Regions from separate parts of the Homo sapiens genome. Here regions 2, 3, 4, 5, 6 and 7 are each linked to region 1. Evidence: promoter capture Hi-C in 16 types of primary human blood cells and fetal thymus (Javierre and others, 2016). All regions are on one chromosome and are shown on one strand. Each heading gives the region's core, a stretch centred on a gene start or on the middle of the fragment in contact. The rest is flanking DNA. Distances are from core to core; before and after follow the strand shown. Region 1 holds the start of KRT83 (keratin 83). Region 2 has its middle 17 kb from the start of EIF4B. Region 3 has its middle 20 kb from the start of KRT18. Region 4 has its middle 5.6 kb from the start of KRT18. Region 5 has its middle 16 kb from the start of KRT8. Region 6 overlaps KRT8 (keratin 8). Region 7 has its middle 11 kb from the start of KRT78.

What was found. Contacts are between HindIII fragments. The CHiCAGO score rates a contact against its expected background, and 5 or more counts as called.
Region 2: a fragment that was not itself captured here is called in contact with the fragment with the promoter of KRT83 in region 1 in 1 of 17 cell types (M0 macrophages); the score reaches 5.5 in M0 macrophages.
Region 3: a fragment that was not itself captured here is called in contact with the fragment with the promoter of KRT83 in region 1 in 7 of 17 cell types (M2 macrophages, M1 macrophages, naive CD8 T cells and 4 more); the score reaches 8.7 in M2 macrophages.
Region 4: a contact is called between a fragment that was not itself captured here and the fragment with the promoter of KRT83 in region 1, in 1 of 17 cell types (M0 macrophages). The highest score is 5.7, in M0 macrophages.
Region 5: a fragment that was not itself captured here is called in contact with the fragment with the promoter of KRT83 in region 1 in 4 of 17 cell types (M1 macrophages, erythroblasts, M2 macrophages and 1 more); the score reaches 7.1 in M1 macrophages.
Region 6: a contact is called between a fragment that was not itself captured here and the fragment with the promoter of KRT83 in region 1, in 2 of 17 cell types (naive CD8 T cells and naive CD4 T cells). The highest score is 6.1, in naive CD8 T cells.
Region 7: a fragment that was not itself captured here is called in contact with the fragment with the promoter of KRT83 in region 1 in 3 of 17 cell types (endothelial precursors, fetal thymus and total CD8 T cells); the score reaches 6.2 in endothelial precursors.

What each region holds. Positions count from the first base shown.
Region 1 is chr12:52,319,673-52,324,058 of GRCh38, reverse strand. It overlaps KRT83 (keratin 83), which reads left to right and starts at 2,661. Exons shown (of 9, transcript NM_002282.3): 1 at 2,661-3,107. The coding sequence starts at 2,724. The HindIII fragment of the contact is 9,694 bases long and covers 2,464-4,386 here.
Region 2 is chr12:52,987,510-52,991,895 of GRCh38, reverse strand. No RefSeq gene overlaps it. Among named protein-coding and RNA genes, the nearest start is that of EIF4B, 17 kb to the left of the region's middle. The HindIII fragment of the contact is 7,088 bases long and covers 1-4,386 here.
Region 3 is chr12:52,966,491-52,970,876 of GRCh38, reverse strand. No RefSeq gene overlaps it. Among named protein-coding and RNA genes, the nearest start is that of KRT18, 20 kb to the right of the region's middle. The HindIII fragment of the contact is 7,174 bases long and covers 1-4,386 here.
Region 4 is chr12:52,941,341-52,945,726 of GRCh38, reverse strand. It overlaps a transcript of KRT8 not described here. Among named protein-coding and RNA genes, the nearest start is that of KRT18, 5.6 kb to the left of the region's middle. RefSeq lists enhancers at 1-188, 1,378-1,972. The HindIII fragment of the contact is 3,648 bases long and covers 775-4,386 here.
Region 5 is chr12:52,919,272-52,923,657 of GRCh38, reverse strand. It overlaps a transcript of KRT8 not described here. Among named protein-coding and RNA genes, the nearest start is that of KRT8, 16 kb to the right of the region's middle. The HindIII fragment of the contact is 496 bases long and covers 1,866-2,361 here.
Region 6 is chr12:52,899,099-52,903,484 of GRCh38, reverse strand. KRT8 (keratin 8) reads left to right here. Exons shown (of 8, transcript NM_002273.4): 2 at 1,413-1,621; 3 at 2,266-2,326; 4 at 2,802-2,897; 5 at 3,420-3,710. Among named protein-coding and RNA genes, the nearest start is that of MIR9898, 2.3 kb to the right of the region's middle. RefSeq lists enhancers at 1,208-2,052, 4,071-4,386. The HindIII fragment of the contact is 1,303 bases long and covers 1,092-2,394 here.
Region 7 is chr12:52,858,111-52,862,496 of GRCh38, reverse strand. No RefSeq gene overlaps it. Among named protein-coding and RNA genes, the nearest start is that of KRT78, 11 kb to the right of the region's middle. The HindIII fragment of the contact is 398 bases long and covers 2,370-2,767 here.

The sequences.
Region 1 (4,386 bases), core at 1,412-3,911:
TTTGTTCTGAGCCATTTACAAATAGATGCTCTAATTAAGGCTTTCTGAGGCGGCAATGATTGCCTTGTAAAACTGCTTTCTGCTTACCCAGGAATGGTACTCTGCATCTCACTAGCCGTGTACACTGTCCCTTTGCAAGGCCCTGCCAGGTGCCTGCAACCAAGACCCAGTCACCCTGCTAGCACAAAGTGAGGTGGGGGTGGCGCTTCCCTCCACCAGGCACTCGCTCGGTCCTCCCAACCTCCAGCAAGCTGTGGATTACCATTTATATTTCACAAGTAAGGACCCTGGGGGAAAACGCCTGTGCCATGGCACAAAGCTAGTAAGAGATATAGTTGGGCTTCGAATTGTGTCTTTTTATCTCCAGGGTCCATGCTATCTTCAGAGCCAATCAGGGCAGGGGTGGGCATGGTCATGGCTCCCCCATCCCAAGGAGGTCATGTGTCTACACAGAGCCCCTCGGTGGAGGGGTCCAACATGATCCAAGCCTGCTGGATTGAGACAGATGAGCCAGGTCAGAAGACAGCAGCGCAGTTTCCAGCATCGTGATGGAGAAATGCTTCACAGAGGGTTCACTGCCCTGCAGTCCTCAGCATTTCACCAAGAAACAGATCCCCCATAATCATTGGATATGTGTGGAGAGCATTCCAGGTGCTCACTGGTTCCAGTGTGGGTGGGTGAAGAGCCTGGTCTTTCTTGGCTGTCTAGCAGATGTTTGACCCAACCAAGACTGAACATGACAGCACCAGCCAGCCCAGCCTCCCTCAAAGATGCTCCCAAAATCCCACTAGCCACTCAGCTGCAGTCAGCCACCCCCAGGCCCCCCAGGTACCCTCAGGCTGTGCCTCCCTGGTGTGTCTTTCACACCAGGATCCCCTATCACACAGCCCACACCCCCAGAGTTCCTGCCCCAGACACAAGACTCTGGAAGCCTGTCCACAGGACCCAAGAAGAGAGGCTAGGAGAGTCCTTTTTTTGGATCCATGGCAGATGTCCAGCTCCCTAAGAGATTTCAACAGCACCATCGCCTGCCCTCCCTCAGGCCCACAGAAGATGGGCCCCTCTTCCATCATCCCCAGATCCCCACTCTGGGATATAACTGGCCCACTCATCCTGAGCGGGAGTGGGAAGGGCAAAAGATGAGAGTCACAGGAGGGTTACTATTAGCCCAGAGTGGGTCAGTGTTGGGTTGTGGCTGGGTCAGGACACAGGTCCATCAGTGGAGTCCTCCTCATCCTCTCCTGACGAAAGCAGTCCAGAGATGTGTGTTTGGAAGGGTTGATGGGCTCAGGTCCTCGGGTTAAGGCAAACCTCCTGGCTCGGTCCGACTGTCCATCCATCAAAGCCATTGCCTGTCCTAACCCAAAGGAACAAGGGCCCAAAGTAAGAGAGCTTGGCTTTAGGAACAGCCACATGAGCTAGCACCCTTCTCTCACCCAGTGTGTTCTCTGAGGTGAGAGAGTGATCTCATTTAAGGACCCTGCTGATGTCCCTCACCTCCCGCACCTTCCCTCCTTCCTGGTGAGTACATACACCCCAAGACCCCATCACTGAGCTTCCCTGCTGGGAACCTAAAGAACACCAATCAGCCTGGACATTGTGAGGGCCTTCCCCCCATCTGTGGCTTCTCATCTTTCCCCCTAGCCAAATGTTGGCTCCCCCACATGCATGCTACCTCCAAACACCCCAGGTCTCTGTAGGATTTCCAGAACCTAGCACAGTGGCTAGTGCATAGTTGGTGGGCACCAAATAAGTATTTCCTGAATAAATGAATAAATGAATAAATGAATAAATGAATACACATAGTCTAGTCTGCAAATCAGAGCCAGACTCTTTTCTGGTCATCTCTCAATCCTGTACTACCCCACCCCAATCCTCCTCAAGCCCAGGTCCCCACTCTCCTCCATGAGTCCCTGGAGCTCTGAGGTATTCCACACTCCCCGCTCCTGATCCCATCAGCAATGACACCTGGAACTCTGAAGCATAGCCCTGGCACTGTCCTGAACTCTCTGAATCAGTTTCTTCCATGTCCCAGATGGTGTCCCTGCACTAGGAATACCCAAAGTGCAAAGAACATGCCCTCCTCCCACCCCAAATCTCTACCCCCACTCCCATCCTTGACCAGGCTCTGAGCAGGAATAGGATAGGAGCGGCCAATCTTGACAATGAGGAAAGGAACCCGCCTTTGAGAAAAAGACAGGAAAGCCTACAGCAAGAGGTTGTCTCAGAGGCAGCCCCCTCCTTGGGACAGGCCAGCCACTCCACCCCAGGGCTTGGCCATGGGTCCAGGGCCCATAGCCTAGCTCTGCCCCTTTCAGAACAGGGTTCAGAGAGCAGGCTTTACCCCAGGTCACTGCACCCATTCCCCTCGCTTGGACCGCAGAATGCAACTAATGCTTTCAGGAACCCCTCTCCCCGCTCCACAGCAGTGCCAGTGGGAGGGGCAGGAGCAAGGAGGAAGCTTATAAAGGGCTTTGAAGATGAAACAGGGCCCGTGGCCAGGGATTGTTGATGCAGCCACACTGAAGAGGCAAGCAGGGTTCTAGCTTAAGAGGCCAGGGTGATGCCAAGCCAATAAAATTCAGCTATTGTCTCTTTGCTCCCTCTTTTAACACCAGCTGCCCCTGGCACATAAAAGGGCCTGCCATCAGCCAGGGAGCACAGGCCCTTGGTTCCATCCTCTGCCATCTACTCCACTGTTCAGACACCTCCTAACCTCCGTCATGACCTGTGGCTTCAACTCCATAGGCTGTGGGTTCCGCCCTGGAAACTTCAGCTGTGTCTCTGCCTGCGGGCCCCGGCCAAGCCGCTGCTGCATCACCGCCGCCCCCTACCGCGGCATCTCCTGCTACCGCGGCCTCACCGGGGGCTTTGGCAGCCACAGCGTGTGCGGGGGCTTCCGCGCCGGCTCCTGCGGACGCAGCTTCGGCTACCGCTCCGGGGGCGTGTGCGGACCCAGCCCCCCATGCATCACCACCGTGTCGGTCAACGAGAGCCTCCTCACGCCCCTCAACCTGGAGATAGACCCCAACGCGCAGTGCGTGAAGCAGGAGGAGAAGGAGCAGATCAAGTCCCTCAACAGCAGATTCGCGGCCTTCATCGACAAGGTGGGTGTCGTCCTGGATCACACCCTTCCTGAACCCCTACTCATGTTCAGAACTCAGGCTGGGCACTGACAGGGAAGTCAAAGGCAAGAACTTGCCCACAGAAGTTCCCAGGCCAAAGGGAAAGGTAGTCATACTTCTAGGACACAGACAGAAAGACAAAAATGGGACCGGGAGCTACCAGACTGATGGGGGAGATTAACTGAAAACACAAAAGCAGAACGAGGGGCAGAGCCTTCCACACTGAGTGATAATATCACCTAGTGAGCAAAGGACCACTGTGTGGGCGCTCAGGGCATTTGAAGCCAAATAACTGCTTAAATGCCAAGGAGATGCTGTCTCCATCAAGGCAGGGCTAATAAGTGTGGTGCTGGAAAACTGTCTGGAAGTGGGTCTCGTGGATGGCACAGAACTCTTTCTATACCACACAGTGATTTGGCCACTGAGCAGGGTCTAGAGTATTTTGTCCAAGCCACTGTTCCTGGGGCTCAGGATCCAGGGGTGAGCAAGAGTCATGGTCCCCATCCTCACAGGCTTTATGGGGAGGCAGGCAGTGCACAGTCTGGGTTTGGTTGAAACCATCTGTGTAGTCAGTGTCCAACTAGAGTTTGCAGCCACCTTCTCCACTGAATCCAGGCAACCACCATGTGGCAGTGATGTGAGAGACTGGGAGAAAAGGCTCTGACTAGGAACATGTTCTGGGGTTGGAAAGAGCCCTCCAGAGCCAAAACCTCAAGAGAGGAGTCACACTAGAGAGATGCCCACCAGAAAGGATCGGGAAAAAAAAATGTGGAATTTCTAATAGCATGAGAGACCAAGGATAGCATAAGATAGGACCTACCAAGGGTGTGGCCAAGTTATTAGACAAAAGAAGCTGAGTGGAGTAGTGGGCCAACCTCATCGCTGGGAGAGGGATGTTCCTATAATTGTCAAAGGGAGAGAAGACACCCCCTGCAGCGCAGAAGATCGGAGTTTGAGCTCTTCTCTGCCACTGTGAGCTCTCAGGCAGTCAGGGAACCTCCTTGGCCTCATCAGTAAAATAAGGGGGTTGGAGCACAGGACATTCCTACTCTCATATTGCAGGTGACTATTATTCTAATTGCATTGTTGTTGTAGGGTTTGAATAATTGGCACATGCTTTATTTTTCAACTTTTACAGTTTGCCTTTCTAAAAAGGTCCACCTGGCTTGGTGTGATTGAACAGCAGTAGCTGTTCAGTGTGGGGTGCCTTTCTGTTAAAGGGTTCTTTTAATCCTCATAGTAAGGTGAGCTTTAACCTCGC
Region 2 (4,386 bases), core at 1,350-3,849, 670 kb before region 1:
ATAGGCATATGCCACTGTTCTTGGCTCTAATGATTCTTTCTCATGGCTTGACTCTATCTCCTTTTCTTCACACATTTCCTATTCAACATTGACATTTCTTTATTAGCTTCTGACCCAGTAATTTACTTTCCCAGTTATGGCCTTACATTGCCCTTTGGACCTGACAGTCTTGCTCCTCTGATTAAACGTTTTTCCCTCAGTTTTTTACTCTTTGGAGATTTGGAGTCTGCCTTCCACTGCCCTGTGGGTTTGCCCTGAACTAGTCCTGAGTTTTCAGTTCATCTCTTACACATTTCACATTCAACATGTCTCAAGTGGAAAGGTTCATCTTTCTATTCCAGCTTCCCTATTGCTGTTAATGGTACTACTATCTTCCAAGTCATAGTCTCAAACCCTTGGTATCATATTAATCTCTCCATCCAAAACCAAGCCAATTATTCATTGACTCCCTACCATGTGCCCTGTTCTAGGCACTGAATAGACAATGACAAACTAAAAAAAGTCTGTATCCTCACGGAGCTTACATTATATTGGGCATGAACAGACAAACAAATATATAATAGGTTGGCTGGGCACGGTGGCTCATGCCTGTAATCCCAACACTTTGGGAGGCCAAGGCGGGTGGATCACCTGAGGTCAGGAGTTTGAGACCAGCCTGGCCAACGTGGTGAAACCCTGTCTCTACTAAAATACAAAAATTAGCCAGGCGTGGTGGTGGGCGCCTGTTATCCCAGTACTCGGGAGGCTGAGGCAGGAGAATTGCTTGAACCCAGGAGGTACAGGTTGCAGTGAGCCGAGATCATGCCACTGCACTCCAATCTGGGTGACAGAGTGAGACTCCATCTCAAAAAAATAAATAAATAATAATTATATATATATATATGTATAATAGGTCAGATGATGATAAGTGCCATGGAGAAATAGAAAGCCAGAGAGCTAGAGAATACGCCATGGGGGAAGAGTTGTATTTTATATTTAGTTGTCAAGTGCCAGAGGGACTGAAGTAGAGGTGAAGGAAGTAGAAATGTGAGAGCAAGGCCTAGTGATATCTGGGGAAGAGTGTTGCAAAGGCAAAGTGTGTTCTTGGCAGGCGAGGACCCTGAGGTGGTGCTTGGCATGTTTGCGGCCCAAGGAGACTGTTGTGGCTGGAACTTGGTGAGCAAGGGAGAAGGTGGTAGGGGTTCCTATCCTTCCCTTCTCCTCCGTCCCCATGAACTCCGCTCTAACTATGACTTTCCTTTCCCCTCTGTGCTGCTTCAGGAATTGTCCCACTTGAGTTCATCTCCGCCCATCCACCTAGCACATAGTTCCTGGATAAATCTCCCTGAAAGAGCGCTCTTACTGTGTCACCACATCTCTTTCCAAGGCCCTACTCTCCAGCATTGAAAGCTCTGCATGAACTGCCCTCAGCTTGCTTTTCCTACTATATCTGTCACCTCAACTTCTGCCTGGCCCGGAGCGGACGCTGGGCTTTTCCATGTTACTCATCATTCTCTTCATCTGGAATGCCTGCTCCCTCTTAGTCTTGCCAAATCCTTTGCAGGAGAAGCCCCTCCTACTTCAAGACATCTTCCCAAGACATCCTGTTGGCCTGGTCTCCCATTTAGTTGTGTATTTGGCTTATTTTATCCAGGTGGTATTTTATACACAGTTTTTTTCCTCTTCTTCAGGGCCTTGTAACATGTAAACCTCATTTCTGTTTTGGTTTTTTTTTGTTGTTTGTTTTTGTGTGTGTGTGTGTGTGTGTTTTTTTTTTGAGACGGAGTCTCGCTCTGTTGCCCAGGCTGAGGTGAAGTGGTGCGACCTTGGCTCACTGCAACCTCCACCTCCTGGGTTCAAGCAATTCTCCTGCCTCAGCCTCCTGAGTAGCTGAGACTACAGGTGTGTACCACCATGCCTGGCTAATTTTTGTATTTCTAGTAGCAATGGGGTTTCGCCATGTTGGTCAGGCTGGTCACAAACTCCTGACCTCAGGTGATCCACTTACCTCGTCCTCCTAAAGTGCTGGGATTACAGGCATGAGCCACCACGTCCAGCAGTTTTTGTTGTTTTTTAGAGTCAGAGTCTTGCTCTGTTGCCCACACTAGGGTGCAGTGGTGCAATCATGGCTTACTGCAACCTTGAACTCCTGGGCTCAAGCAATCCTCCTGCCTCAGCCTCCTGAGTAGCTGGACTACAGGCATGCACCACCACACCCAGTTAACTTCTAAAATTTTTTGTATAGATGGGTGTCTTGCTATGTTGCCCAGGCTGATCTCAAACTCCTGGCCTCAAGTGATCCTTCTGCCTTGGTCTCTCAGAGTGCTGGGATTACAGGTGTGAGCCACTGCACCCAGCCTAAACCTGTTTTTTTAATGTTCTTCTACTTTTTTTTTTTTTTTTGAGACAGAGTCTTGCTCTGTCACTGGGCTGGAGTGCAGTGGTGTGATCTCAGCTCACTGCAACCTCTGCCTCCCGGGTTCAAGCAATTCTCCTGCCTCAGCCTCCTGAGTAGCTGGAACTACAGGCGTGTGCCACCACGCCCAGCTAATTTTTGTATTCTTAGTGGAGATGGGGTTTCACCATGTTGGCCAGGATGGTCTCGATCTCTTGACTTCGTGATCCGCCTGCCTCGGCCTCCCAGAGTGCTGGGATTACAGGCATGAGCCACCACGCCCGGTCGTTTTGTTTATTTTTCTAATGAAGATTTCTGCTTGGGGAGTTCAGGTGGGGCTTTTTCTTGAGTAAATCCAACCACCTCTACCAAAGACTCTGTAGTTCCCACTTCCTGGGTTGGAGATTGTTAGTCAAAGGAGGAACTGGTGAGGACTTTGGCTAGAAATTTCCCACGTGGTATTTCAAAACCAAACCCAATTCTGGACCCAGACAGGAGAGCAGTTTGGGGTTGCTTATTAGGACAGGCTTGTTTGACACTAGCATACTAAAGTTCTCCTTCTTTTCCTTCTTACTTTCCAGTTCAGACTTTTGAATGATGGGGTATGTTTGAGAAGCAACTAAAAACCCAACCTCTGCCCCTTGGGAGTTTATTACAAATTTATAGTTAGTTGTATTTTCTTGGCAGGTATTGATAAGAAAGTAATTCACCTGATTAATGTTTTTATTGTATATCTGTGGATAAATGAGTAATGAATATATAAATAGTGGAGTATTATCTAATAGACAAATCAAAGGTAAATGTAATAGAGGAAGGAGCTATGGATAAACTCATCACAGAGCTGGGTCAAGTTACACTTTCTCCCACCTTGATCTTGTGTCTGTCTTAGTCAGTTCTGCTGTAACAAATTACTATAGACAGGGTGGCTTAAACAACAAACATTTCTTTTTTGTTTTTGAGACGGAGTCTCACTCTGTCGCCCAGGCTGGAGTGCAGTGGCTGGTGCAATCTCGACTCACTGCAACCTCCACTTCCCAGGTTCAAGCAATTCTCCTGCCTCAGCCCTCCGGAGTAGCTGGGACTACAGGGACCCACCACCACACCTGGCTCATTTTTATATTTTTAGACGGGGTTTCACCAGGTTTGCCAGGCTACTCTCGAACTCCTGACCTCAGGTGATCTCAGGTGATCCACTCACCTCGGCCTCCAAAAGTGCTGGGATTACAGGCGTGAGCCACCGCGCCCGGCCAACAACAAACATCTCTTTCTTTCTTTTTTTTTTTCTGAGACACAGTTTCGCTCTTGTCACCCAGGCTGGAGTGCAATGGCATGATCTCAGCTCACTGCAACCTCCGCTTCCTGGGTTCAAGTAATTCTCCTGCCTCAGTCTCCCAAGTAGCTGGGATTACAGGCATGTACCACCATGCTTAGCTAATTTTTGTATTTTTGTATTTTTTTTTGATGGAGTCTCGCTCTGTTGCCCAGGCCGGAGTGCAGTGGCACGATCTTGGCTCACTGCAACCTCCGCCTCCTGGGTTCAAGCGATTCTCCTGCCTCAGCCTCCCGGGTAGCTGGGACTACAGGCACCCGCCACCACACCTGGCTAATTTTTGTAGTTTTAGTAGAGACGGGGTTTCACCATGTTGGCCAGGCTGGTCTCGAACTCCTGACCTCATGATCTGCCCACCATGGCCTCCCAAAGTGCTGGGATTACAGGCGTGAGCCACTGCGCCCAACCTACAAACATTTCTTTCTTTCTTTTTTTCTTTCCCTTTTTCTTTCCTTCCTTCCTCCCTTTCTTTCTTCTCTTTCTTTTTTTTTTTTTTTTTTTTTTTCCTGAGATGGAGTCTCACTCTGTCACCCAGACTGGAGTGTAGGGGCACGATCTCGGCTCACTACAACCTCCGCCTCCCGGGTTCAAGCAACTCTCCTGCTTCAGCCTCCCAAGTAGCTGGGATTACAGGCATCTGCCACCATGCCCAGCTAATTTTTTTTTTTTTTTTTAATTTGAG
Region 3 (4,386 bases), core at 1,066-3,565, 650 kb before region 1:
TTGAAGAAGCCAGAGAACTTGTGTTGAAGGGCTGGGTTAGGGTGACAGAGGCCTGAAAGTGGTGGCAGATGAGTGACAGCTCCAGGGAACCCCAAGAAGGCTTTGATTTGACCACGGCTGTGACCATCCGGTCAACAGAAGTATGCCATAGTCCTGAGGTGCTCCTTGTGGCTGGGTCTGGTGCTAGACAGGGCTAAAGGCAGCACCAAAGTGGGCAGTAGGCCTTTGAGACCCCGACTGGACAGAGCCACACTCTTCAGGCAGGATGCTGTCTCCTTATCTAGGCTTGGGGTCTTGGGGCAGCCGGAGGGTTGGCATCCTTGATTATAGCCACAGGGATGAGACCTTTTTGTTTTGTGCTTTGGCTCAGCTCAGCCCCACTGCATGCCTGGCTGCTCCCACCAGCTCAAGATTATCTCTCTGGTGACGTGCTGCCTGGGGCTTGGCATGTACCCACCCCTGCGATCTTGCCCCTGCTGCAGCCAAGAGCAAAGTTTCAGTCTCTGGGACCCCAGCCAGACAACTCAAGGAGAGCCAATGAACTTGTATTTATGCAGTACCTACTAGCTGCCAGGCATGCAGCCAAGCCTTGGGGACTTTGTTCTCATTATTTTCTCACCTTTCCCACTGCACAAGTCTTAGCATCTCTCAGGTTTCACTTCTGCCACAAATCATGGCCATCATCCTCCCCGTGAACACCTGCAGCATTTACTGCCATGACATTCCTTGGCTTTGAATTAACCTCGTGACCTTTCTTGTATCTTTATGTTCTTAGGGCCGAACCTGAGGGTGGGGACCTGGGTCTAAGCTGTCCCACTGGTGGGCACCTTCCCTTCCTTTCCTGAACATTTTTGGAATGTAGGAGTGACCCCAGAGGAGGATTACAAAGCCCTTCTTCAAAGGAGAGGTTGAAAGTGGTGCCCGGGTTCTATAAACATTTGCACTGAGCATTCCTAAATGACAGGGAGATTTATAGTTTGAGTGCCTTCCCATTACGAAGACTGTTTAAGTGACTTGGGAAAGTTTCTTTAAAAAGAAAAAAAAATGGAGCAGATTAAGATGAGATTTTATTTTTCTTTTTTTCCTTAAAAAGAAAAAAAGGCTAGGCGAGGTGGCTCATGTCTGTAATCCAAAGGCTAGGTGAGGTGGCTCATGTCTGTAATCCCAGAACTTTGGGAGGCCGAGGTAGGTGGATCATTTGAGGTCAGGCGTTTGAGACCAGCTTGGCCAACGTGGTGAAATCCTTGTCTCTACTAAAAATACGAAAATTAGCTGGGCGTGGTGGTGCACACCTGTAATCCCAGCTACTGGAGAGGCTGAGGCGGGAGAATCGCTTGAATCTGGGAGGTGGAGGTTGCAGTGAGCTGAGAAGCCGAGACCACGCCACTACACTCCAGCCTGGGTGACAGAGTAAGACTCCGTCTCAAAAAAAAAAAAAAAAACAAATTCTTCCTGGGCTTTCTTAAAGCTGGGGTGTGTGTGAAGCGAAGCTGAGGAAGTTCAATTGTTCTCCCACTAAGTTCTCTTTCCTGGAACAAAGAGGACCTGCAAAGAGAGTGAGAGGACTGCTGGCATCTTGAAATATTCTTCTACTCTCCTTTGTCCTCTTTTCCTTGGGTGAGGCATGCAGAGACTCCTCTTGGTTTGTTATTTGCTCATTTATTTGTTCATTCATTTGCTTATTCATTCAAAAGCTAGTAAGAGAAGATTGTTAAATTTGAAAATTTTGCTTCCCAGAATTAAACCATTTTAAATCAACCATGACAGCAGTATTTATACCTTGGATATTGGCAAATGCTATAGGTTATTAAATAAAATAAAATAACATTTTATTTACAATTTAATAAAAATTACAATTTCAAATTTTTGTCTTTAAAAAAGAAAATAACAACCTGCTGTTTATGTGTTGGAATTGTGTTATGTATCAGGGCATAAGAGTGAACAAGATAGTCCAGTCTCTGCTCAAAGGGAGCTTACAGTCTGGTGCTGCACTGTCCTGTCCAATCTGGTAGCCATTAGCTACTAGCTACTGCTGTGGTTATTAATTTATTTTTTAAAGTTTTTAATTTTGGCTGAGTCTGGTGGCTCATGCCTGTAATCCCAGCGCTTTGGGAGGCCGAGGCAGGTGGATCACCTGAGGTTAGGAGTTCGAGACCAGTCTGGCCAACATGGCGAAACCCCGTCTCTACTCCAAATCCAAAAAAAAAAAAAAAAAAAAAAAATTAGCCAGGTGTGGTGGTGGGCGCCTGTAATCCCAACTACTCGGAAGACTGAGGCAGGAGAATCACTTGAACCTGGGAGGCGGAGGTTGCAGTGAGCCGAGATTGAGCCAGTGCACTCCAGCCTGGGCAACAAGAGTGAAACTCTGTCTCAAAAAAAAAAAAGTTTTTAATTTTTGTGGGTACCCAGTATGTGTATCTATTTTAGGGTACACGAGATATTTTGATACAGGCATACAATGCATAATAATCTCATCAGGGCATCCATCACTTCAAGCATTTATCCTTTATGTTACAAACAATCCAATTATACTCTTTTAGTTATTTTTAAATGTACAATAATTTATTTTTTTTGAGACGGAGTCTTGCTCCATTGCCCAGGCTGGAGTGCAATGGCATGATCTTGGCTCACTGCAACCTCTGCCTCTCGGGTTCAAGCAATTCCCCTGCCTCAGCCTCCCGAGTAGCTGGGATTACAGGCATGCACCACCATGCCTGGCTAATTTTTGTATTTTTAGTAGAGACGGGGTTTTACCATGTTGGTCAGGCACGTCTTGAACTCCTGTCCTTGTGATCTGCCCGCCTCAGCCTTCCAAAGTGCTGGGATTACAGGCATGAGCCACTGCACCCAGCCTTAGGCTGGTGCTTTTTAAACTTTTTTTGCTTCTGGGGAGTGGGTGATAGGGAAAGTTCTGCCAGCCTGGGAGGGGCCCACTAGAGCCTGCTGCTCCAGTGTGGATTGTGGGGAGAGGAAAAGGAACTGTGTGCTTTGGGCCCAGATCACTGGAGTGCCCTGAGTCTCTGAGAAGTTTACCCTACATCCCTCCTGTGGCAGCACCATCCACTTCACCAGGATCTGACCAGGGCCTTCAGGGGGACACAGCCTCCCCGGATCTGAGCATCACTATCATTCTAATTCCTTGGGCTGTTTCTGTGTAGATAATTATTTTCCAGCTCATTCAGGCAGGTGAGGTTGAGGCCAGCAGTGCAGCTAAATCCTTACACCGTGACTGGGGCTGCTTTTATACAGGTTAGGGGAAGAATAATCACTTATGGCTGAAATCTAATGGAAGAGGGAGTTCTGTGTAACTCTAGTGGGCAGAGCTGAGTTTAGAAGGTTAGTAGGAGGCAGATTTCAGCCCAGTAGAAGGAACAATAATGTTCCAGTAATTATACAATTATTATCCAACAGGGGCTATACTGTCATAAATTCTTCAAACGGAGGCCAGATGTTAGGAAGGCCACAAAGAGGATTCCTACTGGGAGAGGCCAAACTTGAACCATCTGTTTATTTATTTTATTTTATTTATTTATTTTTTTGAGAATGGAGTTTCACTCTTGTCACCCAGGCTGGAGTGCAATGGCACAAACTTGGCTCACTGCAACCTCCGCCTCCCGGGTTCAGGTGATTCTTTTGCCTCAGCCTCCCAAGTAGCTAGGATTACAGGCATGCACCACCACGCCTGGCTAATTTTGTATTTTTAGTAGAGACGGGGTTTCTCTATGTTGGTCAGGCTGGTCTCGAACTCTTGACCTCAGGTGATCCACCCACCTCGGCCTCCCAAAGTGCTGGGATCAGAGGTGTGAGCCACCACACCGAGCTGGTAAGTATATTTTTATTTTTATTACTATTTTTTTTGAGACAGAGTCTTGCTCTGTTGCCCAAGGCTGGAGTGCAATGGCAAGATTTCAGCTCACTGCAAACTCCGCCTCCCAGGTTCAAGCAATTCTTCTGCCTCAACCTCCCAAGTAGCTGGGAATACAGGCGCATGCCACCACGCCTGGCTATTTTTTTTTTTTTTTTGTATTTTTAGTAGAGACAGGGTTTCACCATATTGGCCAGGCTGGTCTTGAACTCGTGACCTCGTGATCCGCCCGCCTCAGCCTCCCAAAGTGTTGGGATTACAGGCGTGAGCCACCGCGCTGGGAGGTGTATTTTTAAACTTAGAAAAAACGGCCCAACTGTTTTCCAAAGTAGTTGTACACGTTTTGTATTCCCACCAGCAACATATGAGGGTTTCATTGCTCTGCATTCTACTTATTTATTTATTTATCTTTGTGACAAGATCTCACTCTGTCACCCAGGCTGGAGTGCAGTGGTGCAAACATGGGTCACTGCAGCCTCAACCTCTGGGGCTCAGGCAATCCTCCCGTCTGGGCCCCTTGT
Region 4 (4,386 bases), core at 1,349-3,848, 620 kb before region 1:
CCCACCATCAGTCCTGCATTCCAGCGTCCAGCAGAAGGGGAGTGGGAACCTGTGAGGCAGGTTTAACTTCAGAGTAGACTCAGAGATGACCCGATAGGGGTGGGTCAGCTCTTACTGCCCACTCCACATTCTCCCACAAAGGGCTTGAGCTGATGGCTCTGGGGAAACTAGGTGGTGGAGAGATGAGAGGATTAGGGAGGATTGGAAGGCCTGCAGTCCTTCCGCCTTTGCTTTAACATTTAGGCTGGAAATTCCTTGCTCAGCCTGGAGGAGGGAGGTGTTCGGAACAGCAACTGAGGTGTAAGGATGGGGTCTATACACAAAACAGGGAGAGACTGATTCCCATCCTCTTCTTTAAAGACTGAGGGTGACTCCAGTGTGTTGGAGACAGTGAGAAGGCCCTGTGGTGGGGTGGGCTGGAGGGAGGAAGGGATCGCCTGGGAGGCTCCCCTGGGCTCCTTTCAGCTACTCTCAGTGGAGGGTATACCCATGCAGGGGGCCCTCCCACAGGAGAAATCCCAGGGCTGCTGAGTTAAGGGTAGAGCTGTTGAGACAGAGGGAGATCTGGGGTAGAACCCAAAGGAAAAGGAATCTGGGGTGGAATGGGAATCCTCCTGCCCAGCCCTGCATCTGGCACATAGGTGGAGCTCCGTAAATACTTTAGGTTTAAGTAATTAATAAACATGGGGTGCTAGGAGAGGTCAGTGGGGGTCATCAGAAAGTGCAGTCAGGTAGACTGCAGAGAGACAAGAGGTGGGGGCAAGGGTACAAGCTTCAGAGGCAGCTGCGGAGCAGGGGGAGGATGCGGGTGGCAGCTGGGTGCAGGACCCAGTCTGATATCAAGACTTCTGGAATTTCAGCACCCTATTTGGAGTCCCTGGCACTGCCTGTGGAGGTGGGAACGGGTTCTCAGGGCTTGGGCCAGGCCCTCTTCCCCAGGGGTGGGAGAGTCGAGGAATGCCCTGACACTTAGTATCATTGCTTCGGTTGGGTTTGTGCCCTAGGGGTTATTTTCCAAGGATAAAGGAAGAGGAAGGGTCAGCGCTGAGAAGCGTGTGGCTGCCCAGAAACCTCCAGGCGCTGAAGCTCAGAGAAGTCGGGGAACCTGGCCCTTCTAGGAGCCCCTCAGCTCCCTGGCCCAGCCCCACCAGGAATGGCCTTGCCTGTGCTTATGTCCTTTGCCCATTCTGACCCTGGTGCTGTTGGCTTCTCCTCAGGTGCAACCCCAGTATCCCAATGCCATATCCCCCAGCCTATCGCCTCACTCAAATCTGCCCAGAGATTAGGGGAGGGCAAAGGGATGAATAGGGCACTTGGTGTCAAAAGACCTGGATTCGGCCAGGTGGCTCATGCCTGTAATCCCAGCACTTTGAGAGGTTGAGGTGGGAGAATCGCTTATGGCCAGGAATTTGAGACCAGCCTGGGCAGTATAACAAGACCCTGTCTCTATGAAATAATAAAATATTTCAATATTTCACAATATTCCCCACTGCTGGCTTAGTGATCTTGAGCAGCCTTTACTAGCTTGGTCTCTCCTCAGCTGTAGAATGAGAAAAATAGTAATATCCACTTAGAGAGTTTTCATGAGGACCAAATGAGATGACGTGCCTGGAAGAGCTTTGGCAGCTGAGAAGCCAGCTGACCTCCCCTCCTGTCTGCTTTGCCCCATTTGCTCCTTTTCTTCCCAGCCCCCTTGTTCTTTTGCACTTACTACTCTCCAGCCTTCTGCTCCCTGCTCACCACTATTTTTTTCCATCTAACATGGGCTCAGGGCAGGGTGGCTAAGACTGAGTCTTTGAAAAGGGGGGTGAAATGGAAGAACAGAGTGGCCAAGAACCTATCTCCAGATCATCCAGTCAGCCGGCTCTGTCTCTGTCAGCCTCTTTCCTGGCCTAGGCTGGGCAGGTTCTGCCAGCAGTGTTTAGGGAACTATCCTGTGAGCAGCTAGGAGAGCAGGGCTGGAGCTTGGGAGAGGCATGGGGCAGGAGGTATGGATGCCAGGGTCACAGCTAACCTGCGGGGCCTTTACACAAATTGCAGAGAGGGAGCCTCTTCCTTGTTTCCTGGCAGGGTGTGCCTGTACACTGAACACCCTGCACGGCCACGTGCAACGGGCCCACCTGGAGCATCCCCCTCAAGGATTTGGGTGAAACCCAGTTGTGGGTGAGGTGGCCTAAGGGAAAGGATCAGGGAAAAGAAGGAGCAGAGTCAGCACAGAGGGACTTGAGGCAAGAAGAAGAGGAAGAGACAGAGGGAGAAGAGGAGAAAGAGGAGAAGGCCTAGATCTCTAAGTTCCCAGGAAGAGACCAGGAGAGAGGACGTCATGAAAGCCAAGAAGAATGAGGTTCAAGGAAGGGGGGCCCACAGGGCCAGGTGCACAAAAGGATCAGGGAGGCTGAGGACAAAAAGAGCACTTTCAGTAGAGCGATGGAGCCTGGAGCCGGGGTGTGGACTGAGAGGGAGGAGAGAGAGGACCAAGTGGAGGCAAAATGTAGACTTTTCTTTCAAGCAGTTTATCAGCGACGGACAGGAGAAATCGGGAGGCCAAGCGGTTGTTAGGTCGCAGAACTGATGGACGGTTGCCTTAGGATGAGACAGTTTAGTAAAGCTGATCAGTAATTAAACAAGCAATAGCACTAAAGTGTGGTTGGTGCTATGCCTGGGTGAGTCCAGGGAACAATGGAAGCCCAAATCAGTAAACACTAATCCTGCTTGAGATTCTGGGGGAGTGGAGTGACATTTAAGCTGCAACCTGAAAAGTGATATCCTAGTAGGTGGCAGAGCTGGGATGTGTTGTGTGTAACCTCTCTAGGCTCCTTCCTCCCCAATCAGAAGCGTGTGGCAGAGGCAGGAGGACACCGTGGCACATTAGGTGAACTCTGTGTTCTAACCATGAGGCATAAGAAGGTGAGTCAGTGGTCTTGAGATCCCAACAGCAGTTACACAACATGGCTTCATGATGAGACCAGCCACACAAGAAACACTGCGTATCCTGGGGGTGGGAGAGAAAAAATGGTGGGCTTCACTGAGGGATGAGAAGGCAGGAGAGGTGGAAGCTCAGGGACAAAGAAGCCTTAAAACATGGCTGAAAGGGCTGGGCCTTGGGTGGGGAAGCAAAGGCAAACAGAAGAGTTTAGTGGAAAAGGAGGAAGCCCGGGACTGAGGTGGCACGGCAGTTGGAAGCTGCAGAGAAAGCACAGGAGCGTGAGATGGGGAAGGTGAGAGAGAGTATCAGAATCTGGGGTCAGAGCAGCTGGTGATGTCACTTCAGGGTGCTGAAGGCACTGAAAATCATGGGGTTAAGAATCTTTGGGAAAAGAGAGGATGGAGAAACAAGATTTTGGAGTTGGACAGATCTCAGTTTGAATCCCAGCTCTGCTTGTTTCCTTGCTAGGTGACCTTGGTCAAGTTGGGTGCCTAAGTTGGGTGCCCAAGTCGGCGAGCTTCTCTGATCTCCAGCTTCCTTATCGGTTTGTTGCAGAGATTAAGCATGTATGATAGGGCCTGGGGCGGAGCAGGTGCTTGTTAAGTGTGCCTCCTCCTCCTGGAAGAATCATCAACATGGAGCTTTAAGGCTGTCGGTTTAGTTCACTTCCACCAATAGTGACCTGGGAATACAAAGATAAATACAACTAGACAATAATAATCAAGGAGATTATTATTAGAGGGAACAGATCATTGGACAAACAAAATACAGTGTGATTGGTGCTATGACAAGCTCCAGAGGACTGTCAGAGAAAGGAAGAATTCATTAATTCATTAACGCTTTGTAAGGCACCTAATGCCAGCATGGTCTAGGATCTGAGAATACAGCACAGAAAAGCCACAAGGTTGCTGCTTTCATGGAGCTTGCGTTCTACGTGCTGAAGGACTGGGGTCATGGAGAACTTCACGGAGGTCAAATGAATGCTCAGACAGGGCTTCAAAAAGTGAGTAAAAAGCCAGGCACGGTGGCTCACACCTGTAATCCCAGTATTTTGGGAGGCTGAGGCGGGCGGATCACCTGAGGTTGGGAGTTCGAGACCAGCCTGACCAACATGGAGAAACCCTGTCTCTACTAAAAATACAAAATTAGCTGGGCGTGGTGGCACATGCCTGTAATTCCAGCTACTCGGGAGGCTGAGGTAGGAGAATTGCTTGAATCCAGGAGGTGGAGGTTGCGGTGAGCTGAGATCACGCCATTGCACTCCAGCCTGGGTAACAAGAGTGAAACACTGTCTCAAAAAAAAAAAAAAAAAAAAAAAAAAAGAGCAAAAACTTGCTAGAGGAGCCCGGGGGCTAAGGGTAAGATTTCGCAGATAGAACACTTGGCACCGTGGCTTTTTATAGCATCCACCAGAATCCCCTCCTCTGAGACTCAGAACCATATCTCCTGCTGGTGGATAT
Region 5 (4,386 bases), core at 864-3,363, 600 kb before region 1:
TCACGAGGTCAGGAGATTGAGACCATCCTGGCTAACAAGGTGAAATCCCGTCTCTACTAAAAATACAAAAATTAGCCAGGCGTGGTGGCTGGCGCCTGTAGTCCCAGCTACTCGGGAGGCTGAGGCAGGAGAATGGCGTGAACCCAGGAGGCAGAGCTTGCAGTGAGCTGAGATTAAGCCACTGTACTCCAACCTGGGCAACACAGCGAGACTCCATCTCAAAAACAAAACAAAACAAAACAAAACAATTTAGGAATAAATGGTCCTGCCCCTTCATTATATAGATGAGGCAACTGTAGCTCAGAGAGGAGCAGTAACTTGTCCAATGTCACACAGCAATTTAGAGACCGAGTTGAGACTAGAACACAGGCTATTTGATTTCCAAACTTATGTTTTCCTGCTACTGCACATTCTTCTAGGAATAGTCTAAAACAATTCTCAAAACAAAAATTTAACTTAATTTCATTTAATTTTCATCATAAACCTTAGAACGCTTTGATTTTAATCACACATCCTAGAGCACTTTGGAGGTAGTGGTAGGAATTTGCAGAAGTGCAATGATGTGAGGGAGGGTCAGTTCACAGGACGAGTGGGAGGGCAGAGAGCTGGGAGCCTGGCTACGGAACCCTCACTCAGCTGTCCTGGGCTTCCTGAGCTTCCCCAGATCAGCGGGGAAGCTCCTGGAGGTCTTCTGGAAGGCACCTTCCTTTATCAGAGGTGTTGGCCGATCAGTTCAAGCTCTCATGCTGGCTGCAGAATCTGCCTTCCTGCCTCCTGCATCTCCCAGACTGTCTGCCTAGATCCAGGGGACTGGGAAGCTAAACTTTGGGTTTTGGAGCCAGAAGAGCTGGGTGGAATTCTGATCCTAGCACTTAGATGCTACATGACTTAGGAAGTAGATGGAAAGTTTCTGAACTTTCATCTCCTCATCTGTAAAATGAGGTTATTTGTACTTTCCTTATAGGTTTGTTTATTTATTTATTTTGAGACAGAGTCTTGCTCTGTCGCCAAGGCTGGAGTGCAGTGACACAAATTCAGCTCACTGCAAAGTCTGCCTCCTGGGTTCAAGCGATTCTCCTGCCTCAGCCTCCCGAGTAGCTGGAATTACAGGCATGTGCCACCACGCCTGGCTAATTTTTGTATTTTCAGTAGAGACGGGGTTTCGCCATGTTGGCCAGGCTGGCCTTGAACTTCTGAGCTCAAGTAATCCACCCACCTCAGCCTCCTAAAGTGTTAGGATTACAGGCGTGAGCCACCGTGCCTGGCCTCCTCATAGATTTAATTGTGAGGAATAAATGCAGTTATAAAAACCTATGGTACAGGGAGTGCCTGCCATATGGTACTGTCTTCAGGGAGAGAGGGAGGTATAAGGTGGGGAGGAGAGACATGGCTTTGGAGGCAGACGGGGTCCAGTTCTGGCTCTCCCATTTGCTACATTTTTTTTTTTTTTTTTTTTTTTTTTTTTTTTTTTTTAGAGACAGGGTCTCACTCTGTCACCCAGTGCCATTGTTACTCACAGGTGCAATTATGGTACACTACAGCCTCAAACTCTTGGGCTCCAGTTATCCTCTTGCTTAGCCTCCCAAGTAGCTGGAAATACAGGTGTGCACCACTCTGCCTGGATAATTAGAACAATTTTTTTGTGGGGGAGAGGGGTATAGACAGGGTCTTGCTGTGTTGTCCAGGCTGGTCTTGAATTCCTAGCCTCAAGCCATCCTCCCACTTTGGCCTTCCAAAGTGCTGGGATTACAGGTGTGAGCCACTGTGCCAAGCAGTGCACATTGCTTTTAATCCTGAGGCTCAGTGTTCTCCACTCTAGAATGCAGATAATGCTTATTTTATAGTTTCTGTAAGAATTAAAAGCTTTACCACCTTAAGGAAACTGCTAGGCCATGGGGGAATAGCTGAACCCATGCCCAGCTCTGGGAGATCCGGCCACAGCTGGGGATGCACAATCAGAGGCTCCAGGCTGGAGGGCTGGAGGGAGAAGCCTGGGAGGAATAGTCCATCTGGGAGGGCTTCCTGAAGGAAGTCCTTGGGGGTAGAGCCAGGCTAGAGGGACACAAAGAGAGAGGAAGGAGGGGCCCTGGGCCTGTGCACTGCATAAGTGAAGAGGGAGTTTGTGCAGGAGCTGGCAGTCAAGTAGGATAGGGTCAGGCCATGGGGGCCTGGGGGTGGAGGTTTAGTGTGGTGACATGTGGGAGCCATCGAAGCCATAGAACTGTGGGTCCAGGAGGAGGACTAGGGAGTTTGACTTTTGCAGCTGGACAATTGTGAGCAAGAAGTACTGGTCCTCTCCCTCAGAGAGGCTTTCCCTCCTTTGCCTTCCATGTTCTGGAGGCTGCTGTTGCTACTTAAGCTTCTCTTAATGTTCCCTGGATGGTCACCCAGGAAACTTGGGGAGGCAAGGAAGGAGAGAGAAGGTAGAATGTGGCCTTGGGGAATAGATGGCCTCTGCCTGGAGTTCTGTAGGGAATGCATAAACACACAATTAGTTGTGTTGCCATGGGAACTTGACTAACAGGTCCCTGAGGCTAAGCTGGCCTGGGCTGGCCTGGGCTTAGCCCATTCCCACCATCCAGGTCAACAGATTTTCCTAAAGGCCTATGAATGGGTCATTGTATCTGAGTTGGGGTTATCTTAGTCCTTAGAGACCAGGGAATGGGGTGGGGGCAGGTTGGTTACAGAGTGGTGGGTAGCAGGTCTTTTCTTTAGCTGAGCTGCGTGCTCTCTAGAGTCTCTCTGTCTCATTTTCTGTCTTACAGACATATATGCACACATGCAGGGTCTTGCTATGTCGCTGGTTGTCCAGGCTGGTCTTGAACTCCTGGCCTCAAGTGATCTTCCCTTGGCCTTCCAAAGTACTGGGATTACAGGTGTGAGCCACTGTGCCTGGCTGGGCACAGGCTTACCTGGCAGGCTGGTTCAGCCATTTGTGAATTCGTTCATCATATACTGGTGGAGTGCCTGTTAGATGTCTTTCTAATGCTGTGGATGTGACGGTCAACAACATAGTCAAGGTCTCTGCCCTCATGGGGCTGTCCATTTTTAATTTTTTTTCAGATGGAGTTTCGCTCTTGTTGCCCAGGCTGGAGTGCAATGGCACAATCTCAGCTCACCCCAACCTCTGCCCCCTGGGTTCAATCAATTCGCCTGCCTCAGCCTCTTAAGTAGCTGGGATTACAGGCATGTGCCACCATGCCTGGCTAATTTTGTATTTTTAGTAGAGATGGGGTTTCTCCATGTTGGTCAGGCTGGTCTCAAACTCTTGACCTCAGGTGATCTGCCTGCCTTGGCCTCCCAAAGTGCTGGGATTACAGGCGTGAGCCACCGTGCCTGGGCTGGGGCTGTCCATTTTGATGGGGAGAGGTCCCCCAAGTCTGCCAGAATCCCTACTGTAGGAGAGGTAGTACAGATGCTCAATAAATAAATGTAATATAGCTCTTTTGGATTGCTAAATAAAATAATAAACATGTTTTGAATCCTCCCTTTTGAGTTATTGACATTATTACATCTCTTAATGGACATAATTGGATCCTGACTATAAAACAGCATAATTGAAAAGAGAATGTTCAAGCTCTAAAATTACTCCAGACTTGGGTTCAATTCCTGTCTCTGTCACACTAACCAAAGGACCTTGGGCTTTAGTTTCCTTGTCTGTAAAATGAGAACAATGTTACCTTCCTCATGGATTAGTTTAGGATTATAAATAATAGGTGCGGTGGCTCACGCCTGTAATCCCAGCACCTTGGGAGGCCAAGGCAGGCAGATCCCCTGAGGTCAGGAGTTCAAGACTAGCCTGGCCTACATGGTGAAACCCTGTCTCACTAAAAATACTAAAATTATCCGGGCATGGTGGTGCAGGTCTTTAGTCCCAGCTACTTGGGAGGCTGAGGCAGGAGAATAGCTTGAGAACCCAGGAGGTGGAGGTTGCAGTGAGTCAAGATCGTGCCACTGCACTCCAGCCTGGGCAACAGAGCAAGACTCCATCTCAAAATAAAATAGACTAAAATAAAATAAAATAATATATAATATATGTAAGAGATCTGACACTTTGACACTTGGTAGGAACCCTGAAAATGAAAGCCATGGCTGGGCATGGTGGCTCACACCTGTAATCCCAGCACTTTGGGAGGCTGAGGCGAGCAGATCACTTGGGGCCAGCAGTTTGGGACCAGCCTGGTCAACATGGTGAAACCCTGTCTCTACTAAAAATACAAAAACTTAGCAGAGAGTGGTGGTACATGCCTGTAGTCCCAGCTACTTGGGAGGCTGAGACAGGAGAATTGCTTGAACCCGGGAAGCGAAGGTTGCAGTGAGCTGAGGTAGTGCCACTACATGCACTCCAGACTGGGTGACAGAGTGAGACTCTGTCTCAAAAACAAA
Region 6 (4,386 bases), core at 494-2,993, 580 kb before region 1:
GGGAGGAACCGGAGCCCCAGGAACCCAGTGGTCGGGGGCCCTTGGCGCTCCAAGCGCCTGGACTTGACTTGTTGACTGCGTTTTGCTAGCCCTGGGGTCCTTATAGAGAGCAGCTAAGCATAGGCTTTGGAATCTGAATTCTTGGTTCGCACTGCTCTGCCGGTTCCTGGTTATGGACTCCCTTGCCAAGTCTTATTTCCTCATCTATAAAATGAATATGAGAGCCCCTAAATCCATATAGGCAAAAGTTTTTGCCTATTCAAACTTACATATGTAAAGAGTTCAGCAGTGCTTGGCCCACATTCCATTAGGATAAGATGTTATAATCACTTTTTTTTAAAAAATAATTTTGGGGCAGAATGACCTGGGGAAGAAAGCGATTTGCAGAGAGTGGTGGAGGGAACTAGGCTGTACCCTTAAAAGATTTCTGTCCCCTCCAGTTTAGAAGGAGTTACAAGTTTTTTTGTTTGTTTGAGACAGAGTCTCACTCTGTCGCCCAGGCTGGAGTGCAGTGGTGTGATCTCAGCTCACTGCAACCTCCGCTTCCTGGGTTCAAGCGATTCTCCTGCCTCAGCCTCCCGAGTAGCTGGGACTACAAGTGCGTGCCACCATGCCCGGTTAATTTTTGTATTATTTGTAGGGACAGGGTTTCAATATGTTGGCCAGGCTGGTCTCGAACTCCTGACTTCAAGAAATCCGCCTGCCTTGGCCACCCAAAGTGCTGGGATTACAAGCGTGAGCCTCCACGCCCGGCCTCTTTTTCAATCTTAACATCTTTAGAAAGGTTGGCTATTTTTGGCCGGGCGCGGTGGCTTACGCCTATAATCCCAGCACTTTGGGAGGCCAAGGCGGGCCAATCACAAGGTCAGGAGTTCGAGACCATCCTGCCTAAGACGGTGAAACCCTGTCTCTACTAAAAATACAAAAAAATTAGTGGGGCGTGGTGGCAGGCAGGTGCCTGTAGCCCCAGCTACTCGGGAGGCTGAGGCAGGGGCAGGAGAATGGCATGAACTTGGGAGGCGGAGCTTGCAGTGAGCTGAGATCTTGCCACTGCACTCCAGCCTGGGCGCCGGAGACTCCCAAAGAAAGCTTGGCTATTTTTATTGATGTGTAATATACAACCTATGTAAATGAAGTTAGGCCTATTGGTTTGCAAATGCAGCTTTAACATAATTACCTTACCTGTCTCCTTCCCCTACCCAATGCTGAGGGACATTGCTCCCCACCTCACCATCATGCCATGCTTTCTCCCCCTGGTCATAGGTGATCTTTCCAGAACAGCTAACCAGGTGCCTGGGGTCTGGAGACCTTACTGCTTGAGGAGTGAATTAAGAGAAAAGACTGCTTGCTTTCCTCCAGACTTTGAGCCCTGGCCTGATGTAGACCTTTTTGCTCTCTCCTCCTTCGTATAGGTACGGTTCCTGGAGCAGCAGAACAAGATGCTGGAGACCAAGTGGAGCCTCCTGCAGCAGCAGAAGACGGCTCGAAGCAACATGGACAACATGTTCGAGAGCTACATCAACAACCTTAGGCGGCAGCTGGAGACTCTGGGCCAGGAGAAGCTGAAGCTGGAGGCGGAGCTTGGCAACATGCAGGGGCTGGTGGAGGACTTCAAGAACAAGTGAGCAACTCCCACCCTCCACCCAACTGAAGTCACCGTGCTCTCCTCCACCCCTTGGGACCTTGGGACTAAGTCCCCATGGCCCTCTGTTGTGGGAAGTGCAGTCCTATCTAATTAGGGTGACCACCTGATGAGGTTTGCTCGGAACAGTCTGTGTTTATGCCCAGGTTCCTAGCACAATTGTTGATAGTACCCACCCCCTTTCAATCTCAACTGTCTGGATTTGAAGAACAAATTATGTGTCAATGTTGACATGGTAAACCTGAGACGGGAGAGATAGGCAGCCTGTGGGCCTCACTTTTGTACTTAACATTCTGGCCCCTCTTTAGTCTTGACCCTTGACCTCTAGCAAACTCTAGAAAGTTCTGTCTGAGGTCTCATGTCAGGCCCTGCTGTTAACACTCTCAAGGTGTCCAATCCGATGTGTATTCATGGATTTGGAGAGAGATTTCCTGCTTCCCACGGGCTAAGGGAGGGGTGAGGGTGGAGAGGGCAGCTGGGGAAGGCAGAAGGACCAGCCTTCTCATATCCTGCATCTCTGTGAACTGAATTTTCCTGATTTTCACAACGCCCCTGTCTCCCAAAAGACCAAGGGCAACCTCCCTTTTGCCTTCATCCTCTAATTGTAAGTCTTTTCCTCACAGGTATGAGGATGAGATCAATAAGCGTACAGAGATGGAGAACGAATTTGTCCTCATCAAGAAGGTGAGGGAGTCTCCCTTCTCCTATCTGGACACTGGAGGCTGGGGCTCAGAGACTCAGACCAAGAAGCTTTCTGGGTTTTGTCCCTAAATATTCCTAAGTAGTGGGACAAACTCATTTATGTAAACATTTGGGTGCACAGAAAGGTAGACAAGGATGGAGTGGTAGGTGCATTTGGACAGAACTCTTGACATCGGTGTTGGGACATGGTTCAGAAAACAGAGCAGTAGAACTGGAGATCTGGCTCTAGAAGGCTCCCTAGAGAAGGAGGTGGAAGAGGGTGTGTTGCAGGAAGCAGAGGTGAAGGTGTGTGGGCTGAGAATGCACATGTGATGGGCAGAGGCTGGGCTGGAAGATCAATCCACAAAGTGGGCAACTAGAAAGTCCTGTGACCAGGCCATTGGGTGGACCTTGGGAGCCCCTTGGTTGGGGTTGGGTGTGGAAACCCAGCTCAGGCTCCCCTCTCCTCATCCCCCAGGATGTGGATGAAGCTTACATGAACAAGGTAGAGCTGGAGTCTCGCCTGGAAGGGCTGACCGACGAGATCAACTTCCTCAGGCAGCTATATGAAGAGGTATGTTCCTGGTCGCAGGAGAGTGAGGGTCCCCCAGCCTTGTCAGCGCCTCCACCCTGAGACTCAACCAGAGGCTCCTCCCAGCCCCCAGCACACTAATAAGACAAAGGCCCACTGCTGACTAATTACAGCCACCAATATTTGCTCGGCTAGTATTTATTGGGTCTATATGTTCTGTCCCTCGCATGAGGGATGAGTCATTACCCCATTTCACAGACGAGAAAGTGGGCTCAGAGAAGTGAAATAACGTATCCAAGGTCATCATAGGGTGTGGTGATTCAGCAGCAACTCTGTCCCCAAAGCCCTTGTTCCTAATCTTTGAGCTGCATTGGATCCCTCTGTGCACCTAGTATTGGTGCACCCAGTTCCTTTTTCAGGAACTTTGCCCTCTCCCTGACCCTGACTCCCACCTGCTCCTCTCCTCTGCTGCCCCTGTCTTATACCCTAAGAAAGGCTGTTGTGGAAAAGGGGGCTCCCTGTGTGCAGAGACAGGGCCTCACCACTTGCCCTCTTCCCCCACAGGAGATCCGGGAGCTGCAGTCCCAGATCTCGGACACATCTGTGGTGCTGTCCATGGACAACAGCCGCTCCCTGGACATGGACAGCATCATTGCTGAGGTCAAGGCACAGTACGAGGATATTGCCAACCGCAGCCGGGCTGAGGCTGAGAGCATGTACCAGATCAAGTATGAGGAGCTGCAGAGCCTGGCTGGGAAGCACGGGGATGACCTGCGGCGCACAAAGACTGAGATCTCTGAGATGAACCGGAACATCAGCCGGCTCCAGGCTGAGATTGAGGGCCTCAAAGGCCAGGTATGGGCCGGGTTGGGGGTGGGAGGGGTTCCTTGGACACATCCTGGTGAGAGGAGATAATGTAGGAAGAGTGAAGTTTCTGGGAGTCGGGGAAGGAATCCTAGACCAGGGTTCAGGAGTTGGAGGGGCAGCCACAGTTCAGCTTCTCAGTCTGCTTCTGAGAAGCAAAGGGATGCAGGGAAGGTCCCTTGGGCCAGGACAGAGGTGAAAGGGGACTGGGGCAGGTATGTTGGGGCTCGTGATACATGCTCCCAAGCCTGCTTTAATCAGTCATATGCATCAGGGTAAGGTTGAGCTCTGCTGCTTTAAGGAAAGTCTAGAACCCAGGGATCTAGTCCAGTTAGGGTAGGGGGACCTTACAGTGTCGCAGGTGAGAAGGGTGTGGAGGGGAAGCACCTGGAAACTGCTCATGTCTCCCTGATCTGCTTCCTTAGTCTCGTTTATTTATTTATTTATTTTTGAGACAGAGTCTTGCTCTGTCGCCCAGGCTGGAGTGCAGTGGCGTGATCTCGGCTCACTGCAAGCTCCGCCTCCTGGGTTCACACTATTCTCCTGACTCAGCCTCCTGAGTAGCTGGGACTACAGGCGCCCGCCACCAGGCTGGCTAATTTTTTTTGTATTTTTACTAGAGACGGGGTTTCACTGTGTTAGCCAGGATGGCCTCGATCTCCTGACC
Region 7 (4,386 bases), core at 1,319-3,818, 540 kb before region 1:
AAAACAAAACAATAAAAAACCAACCAAACAACAACAAAAAAACCCTATAAACTTTGACTTTAAGAAGCCAGGCAGTGGGTGAGACCTGCCTGTTCTACCCCCTCTGCTTCCCCACCCAACATCAGCCTTCCTCAGTTCTCCCTCTCTCTGCCCCTTCTTCACCCACAAGCTTCAGCTGGCAGGGCTCGCTGGGCTTTCAAGCCACCTTAGCAGGCAGAGTCATTGGAACAATGGATCAGGCTGACTCAGGAGCTGGGAGAGGGCCCTGGGCCATACAAGCACCCTCCCCACCTGTCAGGTCAGGCCAGCAAGCAGTGCCTCTGGGGCCAAGGGAAACTGGGCTGATGTTGCAGCAGAAAGGAGTGAGGTTAGACCTGAGAGCTTCCTGATGGTAAAGGAGGCTGCAGCAGGTCAGGGAGGTCACAGAGCCCGTGTTCTTTCCTGGAGGGCAACAGGTGCACTCCACTCTCCCCTAGACGGGATTATTCGTTGCCATCTGAAGCACCCGGCACAGTGCTTGGCACTGAGAAGTGCCCAGTCAATGTCGATGGGTGGATAATAGTATGAATGAGCTTGTCTGAAGTGGGGTGTTGAGGTCCCCCTCCCTGTGTCTCCATCCTAGTCTCAGGGTTTGTTCCAGGCTGTCCATATTGCAAGATGAAATGAGTCCTGGCCTAGTGGGCTCTAGTCCCATCCTTTTTATGTGTCCTTGGCCTGTTGCTTTTCCTCTCTGGGCTTCAGTTTCTTGTGCAGTGAGACAGCGTGTTGGACGAGATGATCTGCAAGATCTCACTGCTCTGCCATTCTGCACTGGCAAGTGTTACGCCCCTGTGGGATGCTTTTGCTGTTGGCTTGCTCTAGGTGTGTGTTACTTTGGTCTTTTTTTTTTTTTTGAGACAGAGTCTTGCTCTGTCACCCAGGCTGGAGTGCAATGGCGCAATCTTGGCTCACGCAACCTCCGCCTCCCGAGTTCAAGCAATTCTCCTGCCTCAGCCTCCCAAGTAGCTGGGACTACAGGCATGTGCCACCACACCTGGCTAATTTTTGTATTTTTAGTAGAGATGGGCTTTCGCCATGTTGGTCAGGCTGGTCTCGAACTCCTGACCTCGTGATCGGTTCACCTTGGCCTCCCAAAGTGCTGGTATTACAGGCGTGAGCCACCATGCCCAGCCTACTTTGGTCTTCTTAACTAGAGTCTACGTTTCCCAAGGGCAGGCATGAATCTGGTATTGTTCTGTGTTGCCCCAGCACCTGCAGCGCTGGGCCCTCCTGCCTGGCTGTGCCCAGCATGCCGCTGTTTGTGCCCCCGAGCCCAGCTCACTCCACCCTCCCTAGCCCCGACCAGCTGTGTCACTGTCATGACCCAGAAAAGGTGGTTACCTGGAGGAGGGACCTGTGGGTTTTCCTTTTGAGGAGTAGGTGGGCTTCAGGGAAGAGCACATCAGCGGGTTTAGGGATTAGATTAGATATTAAGAGAATTTCCTCTCCCTTCCAGGATAGATTGGGAGAGATGCCTCAGTTTCTTGTTTCCCTTTTCTAACTCTGCTTTTCATTACTTCTCTCCTTTGGAAAAGTTTCCCAGACTAAACCTCTATGTTCTATCCCCAAGTCCTGACACCTAACGCTGCTCCTGTTTCTGGTCTTATTTTCTTGGGTTTGTGTGTGTTTGGGTGTGGGTACCACTTCCTCTGTCAGGGAATTTCTGAAACTTTTTTTGAACAGTGATCTCTAATAATAAATTCATTTTATATTACAGTTCTGCATGCGCGCACACACACACACACCCCAAACAAAATTTCATGGTGCAATATTACCCTTACTACCTGTGATGCACACTCATGTGCTGGTAAAGACTCATGCAATTGATTTCACAATCCACTAGTGGGTTGTAGCTTGCAGTTTTGAAAATACAGATCTCCTCTCAGATGGAAGTTCCTTGAAGACGGGCAGAACCTTACTTCCAACACCCAGGGCACAGCACTCAGATGGCCATGGGAGAGATGCTGGCGAGATGGTTGAGTGGGAGGGAGCTGGTCCATGTAATCCCCCACCCTGTCTCCCAGTCCGGGAGTTCCTGCTGCAGCTTCGACTGAACATCCTCAGGGTGTAAGAATCTTGGCAACTTTCCCCTGGAAGTTGCTCTTCACCCTCTGGGGTATTGGGAGGCTGTCCTTAGTAACAGGCCTCATAATATTTGCCAAATCAGGAGCTGTTGCTAGCAGCAGGGCACCCAACTGGCTGAACCTGATTGGGTCAGGGTTGCAGTGGCTGGGTACTAAGCCCTGGATGGGTGTGTCTGGACTCTCAACTCAAGTTCTTGTCTGAACACTTCCCTCTTCCCCTCTCAGGGTCCCCCAGAGTTGGAAGCTTTGTCCAATCCCCTTCCTCTCTCAGGCACCAGCAGTTTGTTCCTGGATGTGTGTTCCTGACTCCCAGCCTGGGACAGTCTCCCTTTCTTCACCCCTGGCCCATGGTGTGCTGGGCCTGCTTGAGCAAACTCAGGAGACCTGATTGTGTGCATCTCTTCCCAGCTCTGCATTCAGTGACATCATGGTGGCAGCTTGAAATCAGCCATGGAATATTTGCACCACGGAAAATGGCAAACACTACAGAACAGACTTATCTTCCCTCCCTGACAGAGAGCCCCTTGTGTAACAATAACACGCCACTGCCCCATCCCTGAGCAGAGTGCTGTGTGTTGCAGCAGAGTGGGAGCGGGTGTCCTCTCCCTTGGGCTCTCCCCATAGCCCCCAGCACCAGGGAAGCTTCTGGTCTCTTTGTTATACAGGAAACATGTACATATACATACTACATGAAGGCTGTACAGTGTTCCTGGGAAGACTATTGGGGCGGTGTATGTTTAGAAGATCTGGGTTTTCATCCTAACTTGGCCTCTTTCCATCTTTGAGATCTTGGACAATTGCTTTATTTCTGTGTCTGTAGAGCAAGGAAAAATAATACCCACATCTCAGATTGTGGTGAAGATAAAAGAAGATGAAGGATCTGCACAGGCCCAGCACAGTGATTGGCACTCAGAGAGTTCTCAATAGTATTTTTATTTATTTATTTATTTGAGATGGAGTCTCACTCTGTTGCCCAGGCTGGAGTGCAGTGGCGTGATCTCTGCTCACTGCAACCTCCACCTCTGGGGTTCGAGTGATTCTCCTGCCTCAGCCTCCTGAATAGCTGGGATTAGAGGTATGCGCCATCACACCCAGCTAATTTTGTGTTTTTAGTAGAGATGGGGTTTCACCATGTTTGCCATGCTGGTCTTGAACTCCTGGTCTCAAGTGATCTGCCCTCTTTGGCCTCCCAAAGTGCTGGGATAACAGACGTGAACCACTGCGCCCGGCCCCCAATAGTATTTTTTAAAGTGTGTTGTAGAACATGATCATGTTAGCCACCATGGGTAAAAGGGCCATTATTATTCCAAAGTTTGGCATCATCCCTCACTCCCACCCTCAACTTGGAACTTGGAGACATATACTTCAGTTCTGGACTCCCAGGCAATGTTTTGCTAATCCTTTCTCTCCAGGGTTTCTGCCTTAGGAATGCCCTCCTTGTAGGTTTCGGGGCCTCTCTACCTGGGCATGGGGGAGCTGCAGAGGCAGCAGCTTGGCTTACCTGTGGGGCACCCTTTCCCTGTTGCAGTGAACCCATTGCCTGGGTGGGTGCCACTTTCCTTCACTGCCAGTTCAGTGAGGGGAGCGGGGGCTACCTGCTGCAGCCCAGCAGGCAGGAGGGTACCGGGGCAGAGAATGCAAGAGTGTGCTCTGCCTGGGTATGGGGTAGAGAAGGGGTGCACTCTGTAATCTGCTCCCTCCTTTCTCTCTTGCCTGACAGGCCAAGATTGGTGCTAGAAGTCAGGGAATAGCCACATTCATCTTTGCCCTTCCTGGCTTTGGAGGAACTTAGAGCCCTTCCTCAAGGGTTTTTAGTAGAGAGTACTCAAGGGTACTGTGTAAGCCACTGAAGAAACACAAGATGGACTCAGATGGCACAAAGAAAAACGACTTACATTTTTTTTTTTTTTTTTGAGATGGAGTTTTGCTCTTGTTGCCCAGGCTGGAGTGCAATGGCGTGATCTTGGCTCACTGCAAACTCTGCCTCCCGGGTTCAAGCGATTCTCCTGCCTCAGCCTCGCTAGTAGGTGGGATTACAGGCATGCTAATTTTGTATTTGTTTTTAGTAGAGATGGGGTTTCTCCATGTTGGTCAGGCTGGTCTCGAACTCCTGACCTCAGGTGATCTGCCCTCCTCGGCCTCCCAAAGTGCTGGGATTACAGGCATGAGCCACCGCGCCAGGCCTTTTTTTTATTTTGAGATGGAGTTTCACTCTGTTGCCCAGGCTGGATTGCAATGGCATGATCTCTGCTCGCCACAACCT